2 separate regions of the Homo sapiens genome follow, and region 2 is linked to region 1. Evidence: promoter capture Hi-C in human tissues and cell types (Jung and others, 2019). All regions are on one chromosome and are shown on one strand. The core of a region is centred on a gene start or on the middle of the fragment in contact, and the rest is flanking DNA. Distances in the headings are between cores, read along the strand shown.

The links. The method cuts DNA at HindIII sites, captures the fragments that hold promoters and counts their contacts. A contact is called where the count stands out against the background at its distance.
Region 2: a fragment that was not itself captured here is called in contact with the fragment with the promoter of FUT4 in region 1 in 1 of the 25 tissues and cell types used here (spleen).

The regions. Positions count from the first base shown.
Region 1 is chr11:94,540,870-94,545,237 of GRCh38, reverse strand. FUT4 (fucosyltransferase 4) reads right to left here and starts at 1,317. Exons shown (of 1, transcript NM_002033.4): 1 at 1-1,317. The coding sequence starts at 1,104. RefSeq lists a silencer at 560-1,129. The HindIII fragment of the contact is 7,218 bases long and covers 1-3,578 here.
Region 2 is chr11:95,105,320-95,109,859 of GRCh38, reverse strand. All of the region lies in intron 1 of ENDOD1 (endonuclease domain containing 1), which reads right to left. Among named protein-coding and RNA genes, the nearest start is that of ENDOD1, 18 kb to the right of the region's middle. RefSeq lists an enhancer at 545-1,744. The HindIII fragment of the contact is 5,781 bases long and covers 400-4,540 here.

The DNA.
Region 1 (4,368 bases), core at 68-2,567:
CTGGCGCTCGTCCCAGTGGCTCACCACCCATGCCACCAGCCCCTGTTTCCTGGACAGTGGCGGGGCCAGGCCTGAGGGCGGGTCGCCGGGGTGGCTTCTGGGGTAGAGGTAGCCATAAGGCACAAAGACGTCCGAGTCCGCCCGGTAGGAGAGCGTCCAGTTGAAGAGGTTACTTGCCAGGCTTCGCAGCCCCGGGGAGTGCGAGGGCGACTCGAAGTTCATCCAAACCCAGCGCTGGCCCGGGGGCCTGGGGCTGGAGGTCGCCAGGGCTTCTGCCGCCGCCGCTGCCTCCTCGTAGTCCAACACGCGCAGATCCACCTCCTCGGCAGTGTGCGCCTGGATGCCCCAGGGCGGGGGCCAGTCGGGGGGCCCCTTCACGAGGTCGCGGTGGTGGAAAAGCACGGCCTGAGCCTCTCCGTAGGACGCGCGGTCGGTGAGCAGGCGGCAGCCGCTGATGTTGAAGCGCAGCCGGCAGTCAGGGGGCGGCCTCGGGGCGCTATCGCGCCCCCCGAAGGGCTCCCACCACAGCAGCACGCCCACCGGTCGCGACGGGGTTGGCGACGCCCAGGGCAGCGGCGGCAGCTGCCCCCAGCAAGCGTAGGTGATCAGCGCCGTACACGTCAAGCCGGCGGCCGCCAGCACACAGACGGTCCATGGCAGCCCCCGGCCTCGGCGCCACCCGCGCCGCCCGCCCGCCGCCGCCGTCGGCGAGCCCCACGGTGCCCCCATGGCGCGAACAGGCAGCGCTGCCTCCGCTCGCCACGCGTCCGCAGGCGTGGAGGAGCGGCACCGGCTCTCATGCTGTAGCTGCGGCTCCAGCCGTCGCTGCCGCTCGCCGCTGGCCCGGGAATGGAAGGGGGCGGTCCCAGAATGCAAAGGCCGCGGGCCCTGCCCTGCTCCTCCCAAGTGCCGGGCGGGGCGAGCCGCCAGGGCAAGGTGAGCTGGCCAGGACGCCCAACCGGGCACCGCCCGTCCCTTTCTTCCACTGCGCCCGGGGCCCAGCCGGCCCGACCAGGCCCCGGGAGCCTCCTGCGGCGCCTCCGCCCACTCCTTCTCCCAGCCCGCGCCCGAGGGCTTCCGGGCCGCGCCCCACAAGCGCCTCATCCGCTACTCTTGATTCTCTCTCAACTGATCCGGTTTCCCTCTGCGCGCGCCCACCGCCCTGGCCCTCGCTCACTGTGGCCCGAACCCTCGCCTTCCAGAGGGAAGGCCCGGTTCATCCCTGGGAAGGTACAGGAGGCTCGAGACCTTCTAAAGCAGCTGCCGCGCAGGAGCAGGCCCTAGAACAGACGGAAGGCGGACCCGGCGCCGCGGAACGGAGGATAGCGTCGGCTTCCTGCCGTTGGGCCTAGCCACCCGCCAGCGACGCCCGCCGGAGGGAGGGATTGAGGGAGGGAGGGAGTCCAGAGGCCGGGGGAACGTGCGAGCAGAGGCGCGGCCACCGCATCCGTGGCCAGGATCTCGTGGCCCGCCGAGACGGTCGAATTGTGGAGGCAGCCCGCAGCGGCGTGGCCTTCAGAGTCTCTGCATTTGGTGAAGAACTTAAGTTTTCAATGTGAGTGCTCATAAGAACATTTCCTTTGCCTGCCAGCCCAGTAAAGGATAGAGAACAAAATGTTTTCTTAGCAATCAAAACATGTTCTTTCCTTTGGTCCCCTACCAAATAAGTCTGACTTGCCGGCTCATAGTAGTATTGCTTGTACCAAGACGCACAGGACTCATAAACCAAAGATGAAGATGTGACCCCCCCAAGGCCCTTGTCGTCAAGGAATTTATTGCCTGTTCAGTGAGATGAATGAATGAATATCACTATTAATTTTACCAAGCACTTAAAAAACATTTTCTGCACCCATGAAAGTTATGCAAAATAGTTTGGATGATAAAATGATGACGAAGATAAATATTCTAGCACCCAAGTTAAGGGTGTAAAGACAGTATCGCACTGGCCTCTTCTACCTTATTAGGCGACACTGGAGACATCTACGTCTACAGTCACTTGAGAAATTTTTTACCTACGGGTTGAATTTGAATTTCTGGGTGTTCGCTTTGGTTTATGATATTCAACTTTTATTCAGGGGATTTCCAAATAGATCAGGGGCGGGGCTGCTGACCTAAGGAGAGGAGAAAGTTTTGAGAGAAGTTTTAGTAGATCACAGCTGTGCATCAGTGGAGTCCCACTGATACTAGGGGAGAAATAGACAGTGCTGGGAATGGGGCAATCCTGCCAGGTGTTTTTGATGTTATGCCTACAGAAAATAAATTTGCGTTAGCCATATGAATTTAAGAATGTTTTCATTAAAAATCAAGTATAGGCCAGGCGCGGTGGCTCACGCCTATACTCCCAGCACTTTGGGAGGCCGAGGCGGGCGGATCCCGAGGTCAGGAGATCGAGACCATCCTGGCTAACACGGTGAAACTCTGTCTCCACTAAAAATAAAAAAAAATTAGCCAGGCTTGGTGGCGGGCGCCTGTAGTCCCAGCTACTCGGGAAGCTGAGGCAGGAGAATGGCGTCAACCCAGGAGGCGGAGCTTGCAGTGAGCCCAGATCGCGCCACTGCACTCCAGCCTGGGCGACAAAGCGAGACTCCGTCTCGGAAAAAAAAAAAAAAAAATCAAGCATTGTGTGTAAAAGCTTCTATAAAAGTGGCTTCCGGGTGGCGCTCTCTGCAGGGCCACAGCCTCAGTTTGGAGACTAGATGGAGGATGTTAGGTGTTCTGGCTAGGCCCATCAACCTAGTAACATTTCCTCCTGCACAGTAAAACCTTTCATAATGCTTCTGGGGTTTTTTGTTTGTTTGAAAAACAGAAATTAGAAATCAAATATTTTATTTGAAATTAGACATTTCAGTGACTTTTTTCCACTCTTACTTTTAATTAAAAGAAAAAGCTATAAATGCACAAATTACTTGTTTAAACGAAATAAAGGAAAAAGTGTATTGGCTTCTCTTTTTATGCAATTCAAGAATCCAGCCATTTATTCACATTCTTCTCCCTCTTCAGTTAAATAAGACATCACAGATAGAGCCTAACATTGTGTCTGGCACGTGGCCGGTAGGCATTTGGGAAATATTACCCTGCTTGATTGCTTCCTTCCACCACTCCCGATTTTCTCTTAAGCCTCCGAATGTTCCAATTAAGCCATCTTTTTACCTGAAGAATGCCCGAGGTCTCATGCATATCAATTTTCTTTGTGCCCTCTTACCTCGGTAGGGTTGAGACCACAAACTGCCCCTACTATACCCTTATTTGATGTGGGAGGAGGGGATACTAGGTAGTAAGGTGTGTCTGGATGAATGGAAACCAGTCGTGACTTCGCAAATTGCTGGTTGAAGGTCATACGTGATCATTGTGCATCTCATACATGCACAAACATTCACAGGGGACTGGATTGTTCTTATTTTAAAAGAGCCATTGGTAGGGTAGAGGAGAAGGAAAGGGAGGAAAGGAGTTATGGGAAATTAATAAATTTACTCACTTGTTCATTTAACAAATTGGGAAACAAATGCAAAACACGGTTTCTACCTTCAAAAATCTACGAGAGAAACAGATAGTGGGGAGGGAAGGGATCATGGAAGGCTTTGAGGAGGTGGCTCCTGGAATAATTAGGAATCATTACAATGCAGAGGAAGAGGGCTGAGGTGTTAGTTGCCACAGAGGGAGCAGCACTGCAGAGGCCAGGGAGGGAAGACTGGGGCAGTAGGCGAGGAATTACTAGGGTATAGTTTGGCGAAGGAGATGGTGTTTATCCTGCAGGCTGTCGAGAAAGTCCTTGGAAGGCTTTAACAAAGGAAGGAAGCGATATTCATTTTTAAAATGAATTCTTATTTTTATTACGTATAAGGAGGGTGAGTATATGGATGGGGACACGGGGGGGCTGCGGAATGCTGACTGTTAATGTAGGCTCTGGTTAATGGGTGTGTTTGGTTATGGAAGTTCATCAAACTGTATGCTTACATATGTACTTTTATGGGTGGACATTATACTTTAGAAAAAAGTTTCTAAGAAAAAATCATTCTGTCATTAGTAAAGAGTGAGTTGGGTAAAAATAGGGTAAGAGTAGGGGTGTGGTGGTGTGCAGTTGGAAAGTTATTGCTGTAATTCAGATGTGAAATAAAGAGGGCCTGAACTGAGACAGTAGCTGTGAGGATGAGGAAGAAAATTAAAGGAGGATAGATTCAGAGAGATTTAGGAGGCTGGTTTCTTTCTCTGGGAAGCCTTTCTGGATACCCACAAACATATATCCAGGGTAGTTTACATGGCCCTCCTGTGCACTCTCACACATGCTGCACCTTTCAGAACATCATGGGACATCCAGAGATCATGACTGTTTCATTCATAATTCCATCCTGAACACCCACCACGGAACCA
Region 2 (4,540 bases), core at 2,041-4,540, 560 kb before region 1:
GCCCAAGGTTGCAGGTGCTAATGGCACCGCTGATGTGAAGAGACTGAGCAGTGCAGGTGCAGGTAAAGAGCAAGACAGGCTCAGTGGTGATGGGGAGGAGAAGGGTGGATTCTCGAAGGAGCAGCATGGCAGCAGGTAGCAGGCCAGGTGTGGCCCTGCTGCTGATGGGCAACTGGTGTGAGTGGAGACAGCGCCTCAGAGTGTGGGACACAAGTGGGCAGCCGAGTTTGGCAGGCTGACCTCCAAAGACAAAGCAGAGGAGTCTGCCACTGCACTGAGACGGTATGTTTATCCATCAGTCTGAACCACTGAATTGAAGGGCCAGGGCCAGTGCCCAATTATCTCTGTGTTCCCAGACCTAGCATGATGGTCCTGCACACCAGGGAGTGACTGGCATTTGTTGAAAGAATGATCTCATTTGAGCTCCACAACAATCTTCTGATGCACATAAGATTTCCTCCAATTTGCAGATGAGTCTCCAGAGAGAACTGGCTCTCCTCTAATTCTGCTCCTTGATCTGCTGCAAGGAAAAGGTGGTCCTGACAACAGACCATCAAAGTGGTTATTAAACTCTCAATGACTCTGACTCATGGAGGGTGGAGTTTCCTTCCCCTGGAGAATTTTAAGCTGAGGCTAGATAAGCACATGTAGGGGATGATTCCGACAAGATCCTGTGGTCAGGAGATGACCTAGGGAGCTATCCAACTCCGTGGGGACAAAGACGCTATTTCCTTAGGGGTTTGTTTTATTTTTCAACAAGAGTTAAAATAATAGAATGAGCTGAACAGTGGGTGTTCCCATTTTATTTCTGCTGTGTGAACTACAATATAGGCACACACCCACACACACTGGGATGTAAAAGGAATGCCAACACCCCTGCTGCCATCATCAGGTGGGTCAAAGAGCCCCTCCTTAGAAAAGATCGTGGGTGCAGCTGATAATGAGAACATCAGATAATCTTATCAGAGCTGCCTACAGGGGCCTAAAGGTCCTCTGCACAGTCACACACAGTAGGATGAACTCAATCTGAGGCTCGGGTGAGTCCTAGGAGAACCTACTTACCATGGGAAATACCCAGCGAGGGAAGGAGCTGCTGCCTTTCAACAATGGAGGGGGAGGATGGTGGGGCCACAGCAGATTAAGGACATTTGAGGAGGAATAAAGCATGAGGCCTTTTCAGCTCTCAGGAAAGAAAGTGCCAACCCACCCATTTCAGGAAAAAAAAATCTTCCGTGCTTGGCATCTAAAATACTCTTTATCCTCTTGGGAATAGAAACCGCTTTAGAAGAATTAGGGGAATGCTCATTTTTCTTTTTTCTTTTTTTGGGTGTCTGTGTGTGTGTGTGTGTGTGTGTGTGTGTGTGTTTAGAAAAGAGAAATGCAGAGCTTTTCATTTCCTGAAAGGCCTTTTAGCAGAGCATGTCCTTGTCCTCTCCGCCTTCCTCCAGTGAATCACCCTTCCTCTGGGCTCCCAGCACCACTCACACACCTTCCTGGCTGTGGGAAGAAGGACGCATTTCCAGCTCTGGCCTGTGCTGTGCACACCCGTAGGTGTTGGCAAACTGTGGGAAAACAAAGACAAATGGCTAAAGAGCTCTCTCCCGAGTCAGAAGACGGTGGAACGGAAGATAAAACGTTCGAAAGGGTGGGTGTTCTACTTGCATTTCAGACTTCCCTTTTTCTTGATTAGTTGAAAAAATAAAAATAAAAGGAGGAATTCTTTAAATTCACCAACTCCAAACTGGCAATAAATGCAGGCAAGAAAGCCCTGTGTGAAGGCCAATGGGTGGCCTGGGGGCAAACAGACTCTCCCGGGGACACCTCTGGCTGCTCATCACACACAGCGAGGAGTTTCAAGCTCCTCCAGGGAGCCTAAGAAAATGTGCGGACTCCGGCCGGGCGCGGTGGCTCACGCCTGTAATCCCAGAACTTTGTGAAGCCAAGGCGGGCGGATCACGAGGTCAGGAGATCGAGATCATCCTGGCTAACACGGTCTCTACTAAACCCCGTCTCTATGAAAAATACAAAAAAATTAGCCGGGCGGAGTGGCGCGCGCCTGTAATCCCAGCTACTCGGGTGGCTGAGGCAGGAGAATCGCTTGAACCCGGGAGGCAGAAGTTGCAGTGAGCCGAGATCGCGCCACTGCACTCCAGCCTGGGTGACAGAGCAAGACTCCGTCTCAAACAAACAAAAAAAAGTGTGCGGACTCCTTTAAGACCTTTCCAGACTGCAGTACCTTCTCAGGTTACATCAGCCCTGGTCTTCTTTGGTTTCCTTCCACGTTACTCACAGAAGCCTGTTTTCCACTCTGCTATCCTTTCCAGAGCAATTATTCTTAGCATTGACTGTGTGGTACAGAATTCAGAGGAGTCCCTTACATTGAGAAGGCTCCATTTCTAATTTTTTCCACCTTCTGAGTTCAGACAAGATCAAAGGTTCTTAGGCCTGGCTGCACATCAGAATCACCTGGGAGCTTTAAAAATATCCTCAGGCCTCACCCAGACCTTTTTTTTTTTTTTTCTTTTTGAGACTGAGTCTCGCTCTCTCGCCCAGGCTGGAGGGTAGTGTCCCGATCTCTGCTCACTGCAAGCTCCGCCTCCTAGGTTCACGCCATTCTCCTGCCTCAGCCTCCCGAGTAGCTGGGACTACAACCCAGACTTCTTAAACCAGTAAAAAAAAAGTTCCCCTCCACCCAACCCCAGCATCAGGGTGTTTTTAAATTTCCCCAGGTGATTCTAATACGATTGTAATAGGAACCATGGGGCTAGATCTCCATCAGGTTCTCATTGATCACTCTCTGAAGGAATTAAGCCCCTACCTTGACAGCCACTGCAGGAAATTAGTGATGTCTCCTTAAATCAATAGTTCTCAAATTCAACTGAATTAAGGAGACATCACTAATTTCCTGCAGTGGCTGTCAAAAATGCAGACTCCTGTTCTTCACCACAGAGATACATTCTATTCAGTATGTCTGGGGTGGGACCTCCATATGCATTTTCACCACCATCCCAGGTGATGCTGACGGGGGAAAGGGGGGGGTGTCTATGAACCTCACGCTGAAAAACAAATGTTTAAATCATTTTGGGGAGTGCCCTGGCTAAGCTTAATTTATTCCCGTGATATTGAGAGAGGAATTATCCACAAATCGCAAGAGCTGTCATAATGCCAAGGTAGAGAACAAAATACTGTGGGTCCTTTGGATCCTCCACCTATTAGATCAGCTAATATTCTGATCATGTAACATGTGTAAGCAAGGACTTCCTTCCTCAGTCCTAGGTGGAGTGAGAAGTCTACTTTTGCTATGCATATTCCTTTGAACATTTCACTACTCTAACACCTTCAATAACATCCTATTACTTCCTGATTAAATGACAAACTGGCATATTCATAGGCCTCCCCGCCAAATTTCTCCAACTTCTTCTCTCAAACCTTCCTTTATATTCAACCAGAATAGGTCAATCCCCCCACTCATCCATGTCAGTTACATGGCTGTAATGTAAATGCGCCCCACTTCTCTCTACAACTGCCCCTGTCACTACCAGCTGGGGATGCTTTCACCATTCCTCTATGCTACCTAAATCCTATCTGGGTGCCAAGCCTCAGCTCTGACCTCACAGCTCCTGTGCTGGGTGTCCATCCTTTGTCTTCCAGATCCATCTCCCCTCTTCTCTGCCCTACTCTGCATCTGGGGAGGCTGATTGATTTAGATGGGAGGCTGACTTTTATGGGAGGCTGACTTGTAGGAATCACATCAGCTGAGCCCCGTTGCCCTCTGGCTTCTGACTGGAGCCATCAATGGGAAGGCGGGAAGAGAGAGGGACCAGATCATACATTCATTCCCTTGCTTCCCTGCCTGGCTGCTGTGGCTCTGGCTCTGGCTGAATTTTTGTACAGACACGGCTCTCACCAGGCTCCTACCCTTACCCCACAGGCCTAGGATGGTCACAGCTTCCTGCTGTTGCTAGTCCCTAGGTGCATCCCCATAACTGGTTGGCTCTCTTAATTCTTGTGCCTTCTGCATCCATGGATTCCACAACTGTGGATCAAAAATATTCAGGGAAAAAATTTAATAATACAACAATAAAAATAATGCAAATTAAAAAGGAATGAGATCTTGTCCTTTGCAGGGACATGGATGAAGCTAGGAGCCATTATCTTCAGCAAACTAACGCAGGAACAGAAAACCAAACACCGCATGTTCTCACTTATAAGTAGGAGCTGAACAATGAGAACACATGGACACAGGGAGGGGAAAAATACTCACTGGGGAAGGGTGGGCTGAGGGGAGAACATTAAGGAAACAAGCTAATGCATGTGAGACTTAATACCTAGGTGATGGGCTGTTAGGCACCGCAAACCACATGGCACACATTTACCTATGTAACAAACACACATCCTGCACATGCACCCCGGAACTTAAAAAAAATAGAATAATTCAAAAAAATAAAACAAGACAGTATTACAACTATATACACAGCATTTACATTGTACCAGGTATTATAAGTAATCTACAGATGATTTCAAGTATACAAGTAGATGT